Linked DNA regions of Homo sapiens: regions 1, 2, 3, 4, 5 and 7 are each linked to region 6. Evidence: promoter capture Hi-C in 16 types of primary human blood cells and fetal thymus (Javierre and others, 2016). All regions are on one chromosome and are shown on one strand. The core of a region is centred on a gene start or on the middle of the fragment in contact, and the rest is flanking DNA. Distances in the headings are between cores, read along the strand shown. Region 1 has its middle 12 kb from the start of LINC00161. Region 2 has its middle 96 kb from the start of LINC00161. Region 3 has its middle 130 kb from the start of LINC00161. Region 4 has its middle 55 kb from the start of LINC00161. Region 5 has its middle 130 kb from the start of LINC01695. Region 6 holds the start of ADAMTS1 (ADAM metallopeptidase with thrombospondin type 1 motif 1). Region 7 has its middle 150 kb from the start of LINC00161.

Region 1 (2,752 bases), core at 133-2,632, 1.7 Mb before region 6:
AACTGATTGTAAATGTTTGATAGAATCCATCAGTGAAGCCATCTTGATTTGAAGCTTTCTTGTGCCATTGTGGAAAAGTTTTAGATTATGACCTCAATTTTTTTAATGCTATTCACATTGTCTCTTTTTGTGTCACTTTTGGGGAATTGTGTTATTTCAAGAAAATTTTTGTTTCAATTATCAAATTTATTGGTATAAATTTGCTGAAAATATTTTCTTATTAGCCTTTGGATGTATGTAAGATATATAGTGATATTGTCACATTTATTTCTGATATTGGTAATTGGTTATTAATGTGTCCTTCCTTTTTAAAAGAATCTTTTTAGTCATTTATCGGTTTTTGTTAATCATTTAAATCCATTTGTGTTTTGGTTTTCTCTGTTGTATTTTTTCTTTTACAATAATTTTAATAATTTTTTATTATGTTCCAAATGTGAGCATCATGAATTTTGTAGCACTTATCTCTAATTCTCAAAATAGTATTTCAGGGAAAATATTACTATTATTGGTTTAAATGGATGGAAAATAAGATGCAAAGAGGTTAATTATTTTGATGTATCTTATAAATATCAAAGGCTGTATTTAAGTCTAGGACTCTCTGATCTCAAAAATGATGCCTTTTACTGCAACATAGTGTTTCACTGCAAAATTGCCGAGTGTTTGAATGCATGAATTATGATTCTAAGTCCACTTCTGGCCATACCACTAATCAACACCACTAAATTTATTAACATCAGTATATTAGGGATACCTTATTTGCATGACTATAAAGGCTAGTTTTGGTAGGATAATAGAACCAACATAGGCACTAATCATATCTACAAACAATATGTTGTTGTTTTATAATTTGTGTGCAAGCCATCTTATCAAGGATGTGAACAGAAAAATTCCTGGAGGAACTAATCAGAATACAGGGGTATAAGATCTCTTTTTTCTTACACTCCATGGCAATTGCTCCCACTGAAACATGCACAGGTATGCTCTCTCTCTTCTGTCCTCCTTCCGGAAGGTCTGCTTTTTGGAATTTGCTCTCATGAGAGATTTCTTATTGGATTCAATCTAGAGCAATGGCCTAGGAAGCTACCAGGGAGAAAGCATCCATTTGATATATGGTAAAAAGGGCCCCAAGTCATTATCCCCCCAAGACACTGCTATCTGCTGTGGTCTCAATGTTTGTTCCCCCAAATTTATATGTTGAAATCCTAATCCCCAAGGTGATGATATTAGGACTGGGAGGAGGGGGGGCGCTGTGGGAGGTGATTAGGTCATGGGTACATAGCTTTTATGAATGGGATCAATGCCCTTATAAAAGAGGTCTGAGACAGACCCCTCACCCTTTTAACCAGGTGAAGACACAGTAAGAAGATGCTGTGTGTGTTAGTCTATTTTCACATTGCTATAAAGAACTACCTGAGACTGGGTAATTTATAAACAAAAGAGGTTTGACTCACATTTCCGCATGGCTGGGGAAGCCTCAGGAAACTTACAATCATGGCAGAAGGTGAAGGGGAAGCCGGCACCTTCTTCACAAGGCAGCAGGAGAGAGAGTGAGTGATAGAGGAGCTGCTAAATACTTTTAAACAATCAGATCTTGTGAGAACTCACAATCATGAGAACAGCGTGGGGAAACTGCCCCTATGATCCAATCACTTCCCACCAGTTCCCTTCCTTGGCATAGGATTACAATTTGAGATGAGATTTTGGGGGGACAGAGAACAAAACCATATTACTGTGTATGAGCCAGAAATTCAGCCTTCATCAAACACTGAATCTGCTGGCAACAGAAGGCTTTATGTTTCATAGCCTCCAGAACTTTGAGAAATAAATTTATGTTGTTTATAAGCCACTTAGTTTATGGTACTTTGTTATAGCAGCCCAAATGGCCTAAGACATTAATGGACCATGATAGGCACTCACCTAAGGGCTTTTACCTCTACCCTAAAGGAATATGCCTGTCGAGGAGAATGAATGTGTATAAATAACAACATTTGGTCCACAAAAATCAAATTTTTCTATTTTGGAGATTTGTTTGTTATGGTAGAATAATCTTGTAATAAATATAAGTAATTTGAGAAGGCTGCCTTTGATCAGTTTTCTGTTTATTACAAGGAAATCAGTAGAGTAAATGCAAAAATCAGTAGCTTACTGTAGATCTTAGACACCTACTATTTTGGTAAAAGTAAATAAATGTTACTATTAGGATAGCTTCTGTTTCTTTTTGATTATTTCAACTGCTCAGGAAGTTGTAAGTTCTTGTGTAACCCTTTGACTGCCACAGTTCCTCCCCTTCAGTGCCTGCAGTAAGAAGCATCCATCCTGAACTTTTTGACTTTTTCTTTGTCTGCTTCCTATTTTTAATAAAATGTATTTACTTGGTTTCCTATTTATATGCATTCCTGTCAAATGACAGAAGGCAATCATATAAACAAAGCTGCTTTATTTATAGCTAGAAAAATCTTAACATAGGCTCTTTATGTACCTAAATGTTAGAAAAGAAAATAATGAAAATATCATAAACCCTAGGAGGTAGCTAATTCTGTCAATATATAAGTCCATGTATAAATAGTGCATAATGTGCAAACTAGGCTTTTAAAATTAGAATTAGTCTAATGATGGTTTAACTTCCTCATCTGTGAAATTGGCATAATGATAATATCTCTCCTGTAAGTTTGCCATAGCAATAAAATGAGATGACACATAAAAAGCTTTTCTGGTGTTGTGCCATAGTAAATACTGAGTAAACATTAGTTGT
Region 2 (2,700 bases), core at 193-2,692, 1.8 Mb before region 6:
TGTCATACTTTTAAAGCTTGTTTAAGATTTCAGGTTTGTCTGTGAGGCTTCTGTCACGTGGCTTCTAAGCAAAAATGATCCCAGTTGTGATTTTGGAAATGCAGTTTTGAAAATTCTGATCACAAGCAATGCTGTATGAGGGACTCGGGTAAAAGTGATGGAGTCGTACTCTCTGCCCTGATTACAAATGAGACAGCACTTGTTTGGATCGAGCATCACAGCACAGATAATTACATAAAATGGGAATGGGAAGCAAGATGCATGTACTGTCATTCTAAGGAGATTATTTTCTTCATTGCAATATTGATTTAACTCCGGACAAAAAAGTACTCCTTTTCGTGAGTTTTGTTTGCCTGAGTCTCTCTGAACTTGGGCAGGTTTCACTTGGCAAATTACAGTGGTGCAGTGGGAGGCAGAGGTTGGACATGAGGGAATGGAAATTTGCAATTAGACAGGCATGCTTAGGGTAGTTAATTTTATGAAATGGAGGCAAAAGTAAAAGCATAATTTGGTGGATCAACGGAAAGCCAAGTTTGATGGTTTTACGTTAAAAAGTGATAAGATGTCTGTTTTTGTCCATCAAGGCTCCATTTTCAGCTCAGACAACAATAAAGCAGTTGCTAGCTCTACAAAAGAGGGCAAAATAGAACCCGTGTCCTAACTGGAGAACATGGGGTGGCCATGTGCGGAAAGCTGCATGTAACCTGTGGCTAGAGAATAGTGTCTGGCATCAAGCAAGTACAACAAGTAGGCAAAAGGGATAAAAAGTTACAGGATGAACCATTATTAGTGGGGTATTTTGAAGGCAAAATTTCCTTGTACTGAAGATACTCAATGTACCAAAAAAGGCAACTTATTTTTAAAGAAGATAGTAATAAAGGTCCCGAATGAAGGAACTACAACCACTGTAGGCAAGTGTGGAACAAGCACAGTGTGGATAAGGGTCTCTACTAGTTTCTTCAGTGGAACTGGCCCTTTAATAAAGCAATGCAACGGGGTGGTCTATGCATGTGTTGTCCAATAGCCACCAGCCACCTGTGGCTATTTAAATTTAAATTAATTAAAATGAGATGAAATAAAATATTCTATTCCTCAAGCATATTTACCACATTTTAAGGGCTCAATTACTACACGTGCCCAGGGCCTAGCATACTGGGCAGCACAGACAAATCAGTTCCATTATTGTAGAAAGTTCTATTAGACAGCACTGAAAGAGCATTGTCTTGGGAGCCTGGGAGTGAATCATGAGTCTGCAACTTAGTAATGGAGTGGCCACTGTTTCCTCATATTTAAAATAGGGCTAGGTGATATAGTACCTACCTCCTGGAGCTATTATGAGGATTAAATAAATGAGTTATTTTTAAATAAGATGTGTAGAACCATGCTTGGTACACAGTAGTGTAGTATCAGTAGTTTTTAAATGAATGGAGCCTGCTGCCTATATTCTATAGTTTGTATATATTTAAGCTCATGTTAATTTTTAGTGGTAATGATGACTAACATTAATTGTACACTTAATCCTTGTGGGCTTGATGTTTTACTTCCTTTGATTTAAGTGCCATTAAAATCTCATGAGGAAGACTTGATTATTACTTAATAGATGAGGATACCTGTAATCCCAGCACTTTGGGAGTCCGAGGTGGGCAGATCACGAGGTCAGGAGGTGGAGACCAGCCTGGCCAACATGGTGAAACCCTGTCTTTACTAAAAAATACAAAAATTAGCTGGGTGTGGTGGCAGGCACCCGTAATGCCAGCTAGCTTGGGAGGCTCAGGCAGGAGAATCACTTGAAACCGGAAGGTGGAGGTTGCAGTGAGCCGAGATGGCACTACTGCATGCCAGCCTGGGAGAAAGAGCGAAACTCCATCTAAAGAAAAAAAAAAAAAAAGATGAGGACATTAAACACATAGATCATAGATCATTCAGAGTTAATTTTGAACTTTGCTGACTTTTAACTGCTATAGCATTTACCTGCGTGATAAACTACCAGACTCCCAAGTCTATGCTATATTGTTTTTTATCCTTTAAACTAAATGTAACACATGTCTTTCCTGGCTTTAACTCTGAGTTAAAGAAATGTTCAAGAATACCTGGTGTAATAGTAACAGCTAACCTTCACAAGCACTTAACATATGCATCACATAGCACGTAATATGTGTCAGTCACTGAGCTAGAAACTTTATATGCAGTATATTAATTAATTTTATCCTTATAATACGTCTATAAGTTACAAACTTGTATTACCCCATTTTATAAATGAGCAAATTTAAGCTCAGAGAGGTTCGGTAAATTGTCTAAGTTCATATAACCAGTAAGTCACACAACTACCCCAAGGACTCAAATCCTATTTCTAATGTCTGTTTTCATAAGCCCTGTGCATACTGTCTTTCAGTAGAGAGTACAAGAATACACAGGTAGTTGACCTAGGGGGATGCTGCCTGACTAGTGCAAATACTGGTGCTCAGAATAGACAAAGTCAAGGAACTTCACTTAATAGCTACTTATCTACTTAAACAAGGCTATTTTTGTCCTGTGCTATGCGTGCATATCCTGACTCGCCCTTTCCTTGGGGAAAATTGGGAGAAAATAGTACATACATGGAAATGTACTGTTAGCTACTGCGACAGATTTGGCAAGGGCTGTGGACCACAGCCTCTCAGCAAAGGAGGAGAGCATCCCTGCCAGCAAATACCTGCTTCC
Region 3 (2,820 bases), core at 17-2,516, 1.6 Mb before region 6:
AAAATGCCATGAACGCTATTCCTGTGCATTTTATTTATATTTGCTAACTGCAAAGAGTGCATAAGTGCAACATCACACAGGGATAATCTCATCTGGTTTTGAAACATGGGTTTTTCTCACTCCACTCAAAATTAACTTGTAGAGTAAAAGGGTAACATTTTAGCTAAAAATCAATAAAGTGAAAATTAAAACATTCCAAAACAAACATAAAAGCTTCTTGAAGTATATTAAAAGAGTCAAGAAATACTAGTTTTATTTGATAGGAGTTGGAAATATTTACATGAAGTACTGGAAAATGGTAAGAATCTATCCGTATTAGTCAGCATGAAGAGCAGGTTACTTAATTCAAATGCCCCAAATGGTCTTTAGTAGAAAGAATCAGTAGCACAATTCCTCAACATGGCAAGGATTCATGATATGCAGCCTAGCTAAAAATAAAGAATTCACACTGCTTCCTCTTGTGTTGGGACAGAGATTATTTTCTATAAAGGAACAATTTATTAGTTGGATCAATGCTGGGTTAAGCAGACACAGAAATCTTTGGTTGACTATGGGCACACAGGGAAAGTTAGTGAACATTATCTTTAAATTTCCATTCTCTCTTCAGAATAAAATGTGGAATTGGTATTTTTCTTCCATTTGAAGTCACTTGTGACATAACACTCCTGTTCTCTCCACCTCCACTTAAAAAAAAAATCTCTATTTTTGTTAACGTGCTTCTCGGCCAGGAAAAATGACATTAGGAAAAACATTATACATGTTATGGAAAGGGCAGAAATAAAAGTCTCAAAGTGAAATATTCTTAATGAAAAAAAGTTATTTCATAGCTCTTTGATGATAAAAAATACCACCCAATTTTTTGAAAACTTTTGTATTTAATTTTACTCCCCACCACCTTTTAGGGGAGTTGGAATACCGATTTCTTTGATGGACAGATTTAATACAAATTACTGTTACTCAGATCTAGGAAATTTGTTCCCTATAGTAGAGAACCCAAATGTGTTCATAATGAACATATTTTTAGATATGAAGAAGAGGAGTAGGTCAATTTTCTTTTTCTTTTGACAGTAAATATTTGGTTACCCTTGCTTCTCAAATGAAAAAGTACTTTAAAACATTTAAAATCATTTTCCACCTATGATGTCTGAAATGTGTCCACATATGTACAGACTAAGGGTGTCTAGCATATGTTGACACATAGGCTTCATCTCATTTTCCTCCCCAAATAATTAAGGGTCACTTCAGAAGGAATGAAGTATGTATTCTTTTGAAATTTCATCTGCCCTGACATGCCAAAAAAAAAATAAAATAAAATTCCCAAAACTTTTCAAAGTACAATTGTAGCTAAACCATTTGGTATTAGTTATAATGATGCTTACTAAATTGAACCTCAGTTCCCAAGTTATTCTTAAGTATTTAAAAATTCAGATTGAAGATAGAGACATATTTTTAATAATTTGTTTAGTCTAGTAATTATCATCAACTTTTAACTTGGGCCGAACCAGCTCTCTCTGTGATTGGTGTCCTTATTATCTGTTATTACATTGTTATTAAACAGACATGTTCTCATAGGAAATGCTAGGGCAAGTTACCCCGGGCCTTTGAATCAGGATGTCTGTTTAACGGTTTAGTCATGTAACTGGATTTGAGGGTGCTTGGCAGAGTCCAGCTTTTTATCTGGCCCTTTTGGAGTGGATAATGGTGAGGGTTCCTGTGAAAAGAAATGGTCACTTAGAACATTCCAGAGCTGTCTTTTCCTTTTCTGAAAGGGGCAAAGACTTGTGAAATAAGCTGTCAGCTTTTTGGGGCTTCTCTATTGCTGACTAGCTCTCTGCGTACCCGATCACTTCTCTTGAACTCTTAACACCTCTGATGAAGTCTGTGGGTCCCAGCTCTTGGTGCCTCAGTTCAGCCAAATAGCTACAAATGTCCAGTCTGGGCAAGGTATTTTTCTAAAAGCAATAGGAAGTTGTGACCTCAGCTACCTTACTGTTGGGAGATGGTGGGGGGAAGGAGTGGGCAAAAGCACATTCAAAACCACTGTAATAACAGATCTCCCAAGTACCATCTGCGAAGTGGAACCTGAGGAAGAGTTTAACGGAGGAATTGACACTGGAGAAGGATTTTGACAAAGACCAAGTAGAAAGTCTTCTAGGCAGAGCCAACATTTGGTTTTAGTTTCCTACCAACTGGCTCCAAGTTACATTTCCAGTATTTGTATTTACTATTTAACCTTTCATTTAGTCCAAACTTATGCACATACATGGGTTAAGAATTATTTAGTTCTAGGGGAAATGCAATAGTCACGTAAGAAGCTTACAGTCTAACAGAGGAGAAAATCCTGGTTTCAATGGGAAATTCTTAGAGAATAAGCTTTAAATTGGGAGATCTCCATTGTAAACTGAGGTATTGTTTCAAGTATTGAAAGTACTGGATTTGAGATGAGTGGAGATGGACATGCCAAGGAATCAGTTACACACCTAAGACTAGAGAACTCACCAGAGAGGCAGACCTGGCAACTGCCTGGCTTGCTTTATTCATGTTTTCATTGAACAAGGAGGTTTTGATTAAGTGTGGTGGGTTACAAATTATGCTGGGCATTGGAAGCAGAGGAAAGAGATAAATAGTGACTGTCTTTTTAAAGTATTCACAACCTGAAAGAAACAGGAGACTAAACCTCCAAAATCAACTCTTAAAACAGAAGGAAGAGGAGCATTTGCCTTAAAATAGGGAGGTAGGAAATACTTATTAAGGACTTTAGCAGAGTCTTGGAAGACTGGCAGATATTAAAAAGTCTCACAGGATAGGAAGGTCATTCCA
Region 4 (2,725 bases), core at 167-2,666, 1.6 Mb before region 6:
TATCTGAGTAATGTAATAGGCTTATTGCCTCTACAAGAGTATATCATACAACCATTCCAACCAAAGCTTATGAATCATTATGATTTCATCAAGTTTGGAGAGAAGGAATGATTGGTGGTATGAAGCAATGCCAGAAAAATCACAAAACCCATAGCTCTGTTTTTAACATTTGTGAAAGTGTTACGTGTATAATTTTGCTTCACGAAAAGGGAGGGAGGGAAACAGGAAGGGAGGCAAAGAGAACAAACTGGCTTAATAATAATGGTGCACTGCACAGTATAATGAAGGGGAGGTGGTGATGTTCCAGGCTGCTCTGAAGAGTCCATTTAGAGTGGGATGTCTACTTTAACACTATGACATATGAAGTAAGTACATCATATGGTTTTGTCTGACGTAATTTTCCCTGCTTTATTCCAATTGTCTAGAGAGCATAGAATGAGATGGTGTCAAGTCATAAACCCACAGTTATGTAAGAACATTTAGCCAAGGGAAGGTTGGCAGCTTGGAAGCTTGTTTTATAACACATACTGGGTTCAACTCTGCCTTTCTGAGAAAGTTTCTTCAATATTGAATCTGGGTTTCCCTGGGATATGAAATCTCAACAGTAGAGTACACACATGAGCTGTGGTCAAACTCTTGACAATAAAGCTTTGAGGGGAAGACAGTGGCCATCTTGAAACTGATTTTAGTCCCAATAGTTGCTAGGGAGGAATTCTGTCATGTACAAAGAGACACCTTAACAGACTGGCTGCATGAATTGACATGTGATTGATTCTTGTCAATCATTTCAGCCACAGTCTTTCATTTAAAATGCGTTATTTAATCTAATCTTCTCTTACTATTTGAATTGAATTCTTTCGAATAATAACAGAAGTCAATCTAGTGTGTTTTTTTTTTTTTTTTTTTGTGACGGAGTCTCACTCTGTTGCCCAGGCTGGAGTGCGGTGGTGTGATCTCGGCTCACTGCGAGCTCTGCCTCCCGAGTTCACGCCATTCTCCTGCCTCAGCCTCCTGAGTAGCTGGGACTACAGGCGCCCACTACCACGCCCGGCTAACTTTTTGTATTTTTAGTAGAGACGGGGTTTCACGGTGTTAGCCAGGATGGTCTCAATCTCCTGACTTCGTGATCCGCCCGCCTTGGCCTCCCAAAGTGCTGGGATTACAGGCGTGAGCCACCGCGCCCAGCCGTCAATCTAGTTTTAATATGGGAAATCCAGACCCAATGTTTGAAGACATTTATCTTCTTTTCTCCAAAACATATATGTATATGAATTAAAATGTCTATCAATAAAAGGAAACAATGATTGGTTCCAACAATCAATAAAATTGCAATTCAGAAGAAGTAAAGGTCATGGAAGGCTGTAGTTTTTGTATTAGGCTTTGAGAAATGACAAGCAGACAGGAAGAAACAGGGCAAAGGTATCTGTGACCTTAAATTCTGATTTATTTCAAGTTTAGCTGACTTCGGAGCCTGATTCAATTCTTCCTATTCTACATTTGTCCCACAAATGTTTCCTGTATTTAAAAAAAATGGAAAACATCTTGTCTGTATATGTGTAGGAGAGGGTGGTGGAAGATAGCATTTCCAGAGGGTTTTTCTTTTCTGTCTTTCAGTATTTTGCAATCCATGTTATAGTTATTGAGTGTTGATGTGCCAATCTCATTTACTCTCAAAGTAGGGCTATTTAGAATGCTGATCTTCACATTTAGACAGATTTTTTTGGGCCACCCCACTTTGTGATTCCAAGACGCAACAATTCCAAATAAATGCATATGCAATAATTTTAGAAAACTGTTTTCAGCAATCACCTAATCTATAAAACAGATCCTTTTTTTCTGTCACAAGTTTCCTATTGAATTATGTTTTCAAATCTTTCATCTCAAGGGAATATTTTAATTACTTCAAAGTTGAAAAGTGTGGAATTTAAAATGGATTGATGATTTGATTTGTCAGAGTTTAATAAAGGGTTCCATATGACTCATTGCATTGTTTTATTGTTTGAGAGATTTAAACTTAAGAATTTGGAGAAAAACTAGAGATCTGAATTATTTCCAGGCAAAGATTCAGATTTTCTCTTGTTACTCTATTATATTGACTTTTGGAATGTGATGGCCATACATGGGAAAAGAAAAAGATACGGATATCTGACCTCCTGACCTCAGGCCCCTGGAGGACAAGCTTGTCATGGTTTAGGACTTCCCCTTTGTAAGCACTCCTAACTCAATACTTTTGGAAAAAAAAATTAGGACAAAATTTACTTAATAGGAATTACCAAACTGGCTTTGTAAGAGGCATGTTATGAGGACAAGCTCGATATGGTTTAGGACTTCCCCTTTGTAAGCACTCCTAACTCAATACTTTTGGAAAAAAAATATAATAGGACAAAATTTACTTAATAGGAATTACTAAACTGGCTTTGTAACAGGCATGTTATGACCAAGAGTTTTGCTCTGCCCCCAGCCCTCCCTGGAGGCCCCTGGTTATTCAGCCACCAAAGAAGGATGCAGGGAATACTTCTCCCTTCTCCTGGGCCTGCCCACACCACTTCTGCTACTGTCCTTTGTCACACACGTGTCTCTTAGATTCCCTTTGGTTTTGAAACCACTTTTAGCTTTTCTTTCCTAAAGCCATCCTGAGTCTCCTTCTGATGCCTGTTTCTTAGCCATTCCAGGTACCTGCATATTTCTTCAGTATATCCTTAGTCTTAGCTGGTGAACACATTCA
Region 5 (2,700 bases), core at 200-2,699, 1.5 Mb before region 6:
TGCATTTGGCTGAGTCCTGGGTGGAATATTAAGAATTGTAGAGGTCATTGCATACTAGACTTACAGTAAAGGGAAAACAAAAGCTGATTCTTGTTTAGAACGCTGTTCAAGCATTAAACACTTTGGGTTTGGATTTTCATACATTTTTGTTTTTCAGCTAATGGCAGTTTAGGGATAGTAATAGCCAGTACATATGTAGAGCTTCCCATGGGCCAGGCACAGTGTAAGTGTTTCACGCACATTGAGTCATTCAATCCTTTCAACTGGAGCTATTATTACCATTTTACAGAGGGAAAGTAGAGGAACAGAACTAAGTAATTCAACCAAGATCATACCACTAAATAGGAGTAAGGATTTAAACCCAAGAATATAAACACCGTGCTCTTAACCATTACGCAAGGCTGCCTCTCACACACATTTTATGCCAAGTAACTCCTGATCTCTGAGATACACAGGAGACATTAAGTGAAGTAGTGAGAGCAGTCTTGAGGAGTCAGAGGAATTTTTTTCTAGAAAGTTCTGAGTCTTCTAATAAAGAGTTACATGTTATTATAATGTATCTATAATTCATTTCAGATTCAGCCTGTTCATTTTAGTCTTTCAATCTTGGCTGCACACTAGAATCTCCTGGGGAGCAATACAAAATACCAAGGCTTGGCTCTACTTCAGGCCAATTAAGCCAGAATCTCTGGGGATGGGCCCTGGATGTAGGTATTTGGTGAGAGCTCTCTGGGTGACATTAGCATGCCGCCAGGGTTGAGAACCCACCATGGGCTTTAACGTGCCTCATAGATGTGGTGGCAAGACTGCACATAATTCACTGCATTAGGCATTAGAGATGAGAACACTTTCAATTACCTGATTATTAATGAAGACTGGGAAACTGGGTGCACTTGGATAAATGCTTTTATATTTTGGATTCACTGGTAAATCTCTGAGTGCCTTTTGATACCTTTAGCATTTTCCAGAGCCAGCAGTCTGAGACTATTAACATGGCTTGAACATCAGTGAGCCAGCTCCATGGAAAGAGATGGGAGAAATTCCTTTCTGGTGTTAATTCCAAATCTTACATTGCCTGCCAACCTAGAAGTAAAGGCAATCTGTGTGTGGCTATTCCATTGGATTTTCTTCTCCTGTTATGCACCAGCCTGTTTCTACTCAACATGCTGCATGATCTGTTTCCTTTTATTTAAGAAAGAAAAGTCTTCCAATTCATAAGAAAAAGCACAAGGACTTGTGCACATTCCCAGCATTCTGATTATAGGTATGACACTGAACAGATTGACAGACTGTATTTCACTTCAAGCTATCTGAACGTCTAGTATGGCCATAAGCTTGAGCATTTTTTTTCAATGATGGAATAAGCCTCAAGTAGTCCAGCCCTGCAGGACTTATGTTAAAACCGTTAGGGCTCATTAGCACAGTACAGCAAACTTGTCAGATATAACACACACACACACACACACACACACACACACACACACACACAGTGAAAGAGTTCAGCTGGAGGAGTCCTCTTGTTTATTAATAGCAATGAAAGGAATCATTGCATATGAAAGCTTAAAAATACAATATTTTTGTGAATTCAGTGTCATTGCATTTATTAATTCTGGGAGAAAGAAACACAGGGAGGTGGTATGTGATGATAAACAGTGTTACTTTCTTTCATCATTTCTAATCATGAATCATAGAACCTTGTTGTAGCTGGTTGGCAGACTGGGAATCTATGTAAATTCCAGAGGCGTGCCTTGCCTTTATCCTTGGAGATGCCCTAAAGTGAGGAGTTTCATTTGACAGCATCCTGGACTGTTGACGAAACTAAGAAAAAGAGTTGACAAGATGATCTAATAGACCTTTTATGTTTCCTACTCCTTTTATTTGGTGGAAATAGCAAGCATGCCTTCAGAAATGGACCCTGTCTTTCAATGGGTGAATAGAAGATGCCCATATTTGTGCACTCTTACTCTACATATCCTTTTGTGTGTGAATTTCCATCATTGTGGACCAGTAGAAAAGTCAAAGAACAGCAGAAATGCTGGGAATCTGGCCAGAAGTTAAATGTGCTCATAATAGGTCTTGGAGATGGAAGCGTTGACCGCTGTAGAATTCTTTCTTTGAATGGGAAGCTATATTTGGGCCAAAAGGTTTATCTTCCAGGCTCTCCTCATCTCTCGATACCTTTTTCCCTGGCCTTCTTTGGAATGGACCTCTTCTTTTATGCGCATCAGCCTTTGGCATTTTCCAGAATACAAAGATCATAACTATAATTGGGACAACATTCACTGTAAAGCGGGGTGGGGATGACACATCAGAGTTGTTTGTTGACATTTAGATAGAAGGACAGTTAGATGTTCCATGACTTTGTTGTTGTTTTTGTTGTCCCTATTACTCTAATTCTAGAATGAAGACAAGACTGGTTCTCACCGTTGTCCTCAATGGTGAGATATGCGTGAGGTTATGTGAAAAGAATAATAAGATGCATGATAAGGTTCTAGCCACACTGTGGCTACATAAAATTAATCAATCCAACAGAGCTGGCTTGTGTGATGGCTCCCAGAATGTGGTCAGTAGGCATGACTCTATTTTTCTTTTGTATTACATATTCTCAATTTCTATTCCTCTTTTAACACGCTTATGGCAAGTTCTTTTTTTTTTTTTTACTTTTATTTTAAGTTCAGGGGTACCAGCGTAGCTTTGTTA
Region 6 (2,700 bases), core at 83-2,582:
AGATCTACTTGGAGCCAACCAAGAGACCGGACGGGAGTGGGGCGGAAAGGCGGAGACCAGTTCGAGCACTAACGCGGGGGCGCGCGAGTGTGAGGGTTGCGGGTCCGCCCGGGGCTAGGGCGGTCGCTCTCGCCATTGTCCCCGCGGCTTTCCGCCTGTGAAACACGTCCTTCCTCTGGGTCCTTGAGCCCCTCCCACTTTTTGGAGAGAAGAGCCACTCAGTTTTTTTTCCTAAGGACCTGTTGGTGGACCTCTCCTCGCTTTCGTAACGCGGATATAGCCTTTTCCCTTCCTGGTAGGAAGAGGAAGGAGGGGTCCGGGAAGGAAGCCGATTTCCTTCTTTCCCCCTCTGCACGCTTGCTAGCCCCAGCGATCGCTGCTGGCCCCCGGGTAGGAAAGTGGGGTTCCTGGCCGTTTCTGCGACGCTGGCCTAGGGCTTGCAGCTGCTGTTGAGTGAAAGCACGCAGACTGGCGGGAGCCGATCATTTCTCGAATGAAGAAGAAAAAGCGCAATTCCCTCCTTATGCTCTAGGGAATTGAGCCGCGTCCCAGATCACCCATTCCAGAAATGTGAAACCGGGCCCTCACAAAGTCGTCTCTGGTGAAGAGGTGGCGTGCGGGGTGGGGGTTGGTGGAGGGTGAAGGCATAAGCAAACATATTTTAAAATCCAGATCGTAGGAAGTGTCACCTGGCCCCTCACCCAGGCATGCTTTCTGGGGGAAGCGCAGGGCCAAGCTTTCCCTAGAAAAGCTGGGGCGAAGAGAGAGCAGGCGGCGGCTAAGGAGCTCCTGGCAGGCTGGGAAGGTGGAGAAGTGGGGTGAGGTATTTTTCTAGAAAGTGTAGCCCTAGCTCATCTCCTAGATTGGGGAAGAGGGAACTGAGGGAGGAGGGAAGGAGACCCAGGGCAGCTCCAGGATAGGGAAATGTTGAAGAAGGGACTGCGTTCTCCAACCGAACCCTCCCTCCTGGGAACCGCAGCCCAGCGCGGTAACTGAGTTACCGCAACCGGGCGGTGGGGAGGAAGGGTGGTCCAGGAAACCGGCGAGGGAGAAAAGCGGTGGAAGGGAGAGTCTTCTCCCTGGAGCGGCCCCAGCAGTACAAAGTGCTGGTCACAGCGCCCCTTCCGCCCCTAGATTGACGAGCAGTGGCGTGGAGCCAGCGCGGAGGCTGCCCCCTCCCCCTCCCGAGCCCGCAGCGCGGAGCGCGGTTTAGCACCAACGGAGCCGGGGGCGGCGTCTTTGGGATGGAAAAGGGCCAAAGGGGAGGAGTGGGGTGGGGGTGGGGGTTTCACTGGTCCACTATAAAAGGACCGCTCGGCTGCCCGGTTCTTGCACTCGCTGGAAAGCGGCTCCGAGCCAGGGGCTATTGCAAAGCCAGGGTGCGCTACCGGACGGAGAGGGGAGAGCCCTGAGCAGAGTGAGCAACATCGCAGCCAAGGCGGAGGCCGAAGAGGGGCGCCAGGCACCAATCTCCGCGTTGCCTCAGCCCCGGAGGCGCCCCAGAGCGCTTCTTGTCCCAGCAGAGCCACTCTGCCTGCGCCTGCCTCTCAGTGTCTCCAACTTTGCGCTGGAAGAAAAACTTCCCGCGCGCCGGCAGAACTGCAGCGCCTCCTTTTAGTGACTCCGGGAGCTTCGGCTGTAGCCGGCTCTGCGCGCCCTTCCAACGAATAATAGAAATTGTTAATTTTAACAATCCAGAGCAGGCCAACGAGGCTTTGCTCTCCCGACCCGAACTAAAGGTCCCTCGCTCCGTGCGCTGCTACGAGCGGTGTCTCCTGGGGCTCCAATGCAGCGAGCTGTGCCCGAGGGGTTCGGAAGGCGCAAGCTGGGCAGCGACATGGGGAACGCGGAGCGGGCTCCGGGGTCTCGGAGCTTTGGGCCAGTACCCACGCTGCTGCTGCTCGCCGCGGCGCTACTGGCCGTGTCGGACGCACTCGGGCGCCCCTCCGAGGAGGACGAGGAGCTAGTGGTGCCGGAGCTGGAGCGCGCCCCGGGACACGGGACCACGCGCCTCCGCCTGCACGCCTTTGACCAGCAGCTGGATCTGGAGCTGCGGCCCGACAGCAGCTTTTTGGCGCCCGGCTTCACGCTCCAGAACGTGGGGCGCAAATCCGGGTCCGAGACGCCGCTTCCGGAAACCGACCTGGCGCACTGCTTCTACTCCGGCACCGTGAATGGCGATCCCAGCTCGGCTGCCGCCCTCAGCCTCTGCGAGGGCGTGCGCGGCGCCTTCTACCTGCTGGGGGAGGCGTATTTCATCCAGCCGCTGCCCGCCGCCAGCGAGCGCCTCGCCACCGCCGCCCCAGGGGAGAAGCCGCCGGCACCACTACAGTTCCACCTCCTGCGGCGGAATCGGCAGGGCGACGTCGGCGGCACGTGCGGGGTCGTGGACGACGAGCCCCGGCCGACTGGGAAAGCGGAGACCGAAGACGAGGACGAAGGGACTGAGGGCGAGGACGAAGGGGCTCAGTGGTCGCCGCAGGACCCGGCACTGCAAGGCGTAGGACAGCCCACAGGTAGAAGAATTGCTCTCGTTTGTCTGTCCATTCATCCTCCTCTCCTCACTTTATCTATCCCACGCGACTTCAGGGTAGACTCCTGCTGGCAGGCAGGATCATAAGTCCGCGGACAGAACGGAGGCCTGGAGTGGAGGAATGTGGTTTGAGGTTTGGATTGGTGAACTCAGCTAGAAAACATACT
Region 7 (2,700 bases), core at 92-2,591, 1.5 Mb before region 6:
ACTCAACTCCATTTCTCCATTTCTGAGAGGACAGGAAAGGAGAGGAGAAGCATGGGAGAAGCGAGGCAAGGTGAGAAAAGGGAGAAAAGGAGAAGAGAGGAGAGGAGATTGAGCTGCTCTTTAAAAAACAGCTATAGCATTATGCCCTTAAAGATAATTTATTCTATTAATCTCTATCTTTTCTTTCACATAAGTTTTATATCACATATAACAACAAAAAATGAAATTCAGTAAATAATTGGGTGATTCTTATATGTGGCTTCCTGTACCTGTACCTATGTACCTAACCAAGTATGAATAATTCTGACATTATCACAACAAAGCTTGATATTTGGGGGAAAAAAGTCCCTGCACTTTTAAATCAGATCAGGTACATACTGGCAAGATGGCAGACTGAGTACTGTGACTACTAAGACATAACCATCTGTTTTTAGAGATTCACACACACACACACACACACACACACACACACAAAACCTAGGTAAAAGAACTGACATTTCTAGAATGTTGAATTGTATACCAAATCCTTTGTATTTTTAGTTTTGACTTTATATCGTTGACTTTTGTCCTTTGTCAGTTTAAATTTATTCTAATGTGGGAAATAAGAGTCTTCTGTGATTGAAATCTGGCTTGCCTTTGGCTGTTTCTTGGTATTCATGCCCATGTTCTACAGGCTATGAGCAAACTGGGTCTATAATCAAGTGCCAACTTTAACCTAAAAAGAATAATAATAAAGATCTCCTAAGAGTGTAGGGATAGTTTGTAATGATTAGCTCGAGGGTCCAAAACACTTAGAATGTAGCAACCTCAGGAAATTCCTGCCATTACATGGACGTTCACTTTTCTCTAAAGAAAACAAAGAAAACAAAAAATAATTAATCCCTCTCAGGCATTAAACCAAAGATAATTCACATATTAAAAGCTTTATTTCATTACTTTCATTTGGTTTTGTTAAGGAGTAGTATATTCTGGCCCGTAGTATTACTTTGGTATTTATTCTAGTTTCTAAAGGAGGAGATGGTTCTGAGGATGCAGATGTCTAAGCAGTTAACATCACAACCTTCTTCAGTTGCCAAGGAAATAGGAAAACTTAAACTCTTCTGCAAAACTAATTTGCCAGCTGTGTGTTTCTATTTTGATTGTAACCACTTACTTTCAGTTATTGCTTTTGTCTTCACTGTGCCCACATTTCTATTTTGTTTGTTTTCAGATGTTTTATTGTTTGTCATTGATACATCTGGCTATTATAGTTCTACTGCTGTACTGTTTGTTCTTCCTGTAATTTTTAAATATATTTTTAATTGCTATGGGTACATAATAGTTGTACATATTTATGGAGTACAAGTGATGTTTTGATACAGACATACAATGTGTAGTGATCAGAACAGGGTAACTTGAGTATCCATCACCTTAAGTATTTATCATTTCTTGGAGCTAAAAAATAAATTGGACTCATGGAGATAGAGAACAGAATAAAGGTTACCACAGCCTGGGAATGGTAGCTGGGAAAGGGTGATAAAGTGAAGATGGTTAATGGGTACAAAACTACAGGTTTGTATTAATAGAATGAATAACATCTAGTATTTGGTAGCAGAATAGGGTGAGTATGATTAACAATAATTTATTGTACACCTACATCTTTTTCTGATTCAGTTTATACCCCTTGGTCTTGAATGGGATTGTAATAAGAAAGGTTTGGAAAGTACCATCTCTAATAATTTTACTTGAGTTAATTGTTTACTTGCAATAATCAAGCTTGGGAGAAAATGTGTAAGAAAATTTTGTTATGACTTTGATTTTAGTTTACAGAAGACAGGCAATTTTTCCCCAATACATTTGTGTCTATACGGTTGAGTGCTGTGTGAAATCTTATGGTGAAGTAGATGACATTTTTAAAGCTCCTTTTCAATATTCAATTTGCCTCCTCAATTCCCTAGTGGAAGTAAGATCTTTATATGGCTTAATGGGTGACCTTATTTATTAAATTAGCAAACACCGATGGCCCATCTCTGATGTATACTTATGCTATGGAAACTGCTGTGGAAAATGCAAAGAAACATGAAGGTAGTACCCTGTTGGGTGATAAGAAATGTATACTCACATAAAATGTAACTCAAGATATGATAACTCAAGATAAGATAATATCTAGTGTATGCAACTAGTTAAATGAGAAACCCTATTTCTAACTAGAGTAAACATGGATTTTTAAAATTGTGCCTTTAAAAATAGTTAGGATTTTATTTAGTAACATGGAGGTAAGGAATCTGGAAGAGGGCATCTAAGAGTGTGGAAGGGGAGCTTCAAATTTATGTGGATGGAAAAGGTATTATTTAGGAATACAGACAAAAATAGTAAGATTGGTTTAGACAGTCTGGCTTGAAAAGTAGGTCTAGGACATGTCATAGGAGACTCTAAGTACTTATCAATTATTAATCAAGCAAGCAGCATGAGTTAGTTTTCCTTTTAGAGGATTAATGTGACACCACACATAGACTATAGTAGAGCAAACCTTTTACATTGTTATCCTTTTACATTGTAACCTTTTACATTGTTGCATGTAAATTGTTTACGTTGTTAACCTTTTACATTGTAGATTCACAGCCTACTTGCATCAGAATCACTTGAGGATGCTTATTAAATGTGCAGATTGTGTACACTATTGGTTTGTCTGGGGAGGGCAATACTCTGGAAGTGATTCTT

Evidence for each region. The method cuts DNA at HindIII sites, captures the fragments that hold promoters and counts their contacts. A CHiCAGO score of 5 or more calls a contact.
Region 1: a contact is called between a fragment that was not itself captured here and the fragment with the promoter of ADAMTS1 in region 6, in 1 of 17 cell types (erythroblasts). The highest score is 5.1, in erythroblasts.
Region 2: a contact is called between a fragment that was not itself captured here and the fragment with the promoter of ADAMTS1 in region 6, in 3 of 17 cell types (endothelial precursors, megakaryocytes and total B cells). The highest score is 16.4, in endothelial precursors.
Region 3: a contact is called between a fragment that was not itself captured here and the fragment with the promoter of ADAMTS1 in region 6, in 2 of 17 cell types (M1 macrophages and erythroblasts). The highest score is 6.2, in M1 macrophages.
Region 4: a fragment that was not itself captured here is called in contact with the fragment with the promoter of ADAMTS1 in region 6 in 1 of 17 cell types (erythroblasts); the score reaches 6.0 in erythroblasts.
Region 5: a fragment that was not itself captured here is called in contact with the fragment with the promoter of ADAMTS1 in region 6 in 4 of 17 cell types (M0 macrophages, M1 macrophages, M2 macrophages and 1 more); the score reaches 11.3 in M0 macrophages.
Region 7: a fragment that was not itself captured here is called in contact with the fragment with the promoter of ADAMTS1 in region 6 in 1 of 17 cell types (M0 macrophages); the score reaches 5.1 in M0 macrophages.

Annotation. Positions count from the first base shown.
Region 1 is chr21:28,550,203-28,552,954 of GRCh38, reverse strand. No RefSeq gene overlaps it. Among named protein-coding and RNA genes, the nearest start is that of LINC00161, 12 kb to the right of the region's middle. The HindIII fragment of the contact is 2,651 bases long and covers 57-2,707 here.
Region 2 is chr21:28,634,290-28,636,989 of GRCh38, reverse strand. It overlaps a transcript of HEMK2 not described here. Among named protein-coding and RNA genes, the nearest start is that of LINC00161, 96 kb to the right of the region's middle. The HindIII fragment of the contact is 2,848 bases long and covers 19-2,700 here.
Region 3 is chr21:28,411,159-28,413,978 of GRCh38, reverse strand. No RefSeq gene overlaps it. Among named protein-coding and RNA genes, the nearest start is that of LINC00161, 130 kb to the left of the region's middle. The HindIII fragment of the contact is 2,102 bases long and covers 216-2,317 here.
Region 4 is chr21:28,483,232-28,485,956 of GRCh38, reverse strand. No RefSeq gene overlaps it. Among named protein-coding and RNA genes, the nearest start is that of LINC00161, 55 kb to the left of the region's middle. The HindIII fragment of the contact is 1,531 bases long and covers 651-2,181 here.
Region 5 is chr21:28,355,660-28,358,359 of GRCh38, reverse strand. No RefSeq gene overlaps it. Among named protein-coding and RNA genes, the nearest start is that of LINC01695, 130 kb to the right of the region's middle. The HindIII fragment of the contact is 225 bases long and covers 1,337-1,561 here.
Region 6 is chr21:26,844,041-26,846,740 of GRCh38, reverse strand. ADAMTS1 (ADAM metallopeptidase with thrombospondin type 1 motif 1) reads left to right here and starts at 1,332. Exons shown (of 9, transcript NM_006988.5): 1 at 1,332-2,516. The coding sequence starts at 1,787. RefSeq lists enhancers at 1-547, 548-1,148. The HindIII fragment of the contact is 3,865 bases long and covers 739-2,700 here.
Region 7 is chr21:28,385,780-28,388,479 of GRCh38, reverse strand. No RefSeq gene overlaps it. Among named protein-coding and RNA genes, the nearest start is that of LINC00161, 150 kb to the left of the region's middle. The HindIII fragment of the contact is 833 bases long and covers 925-1,757 here.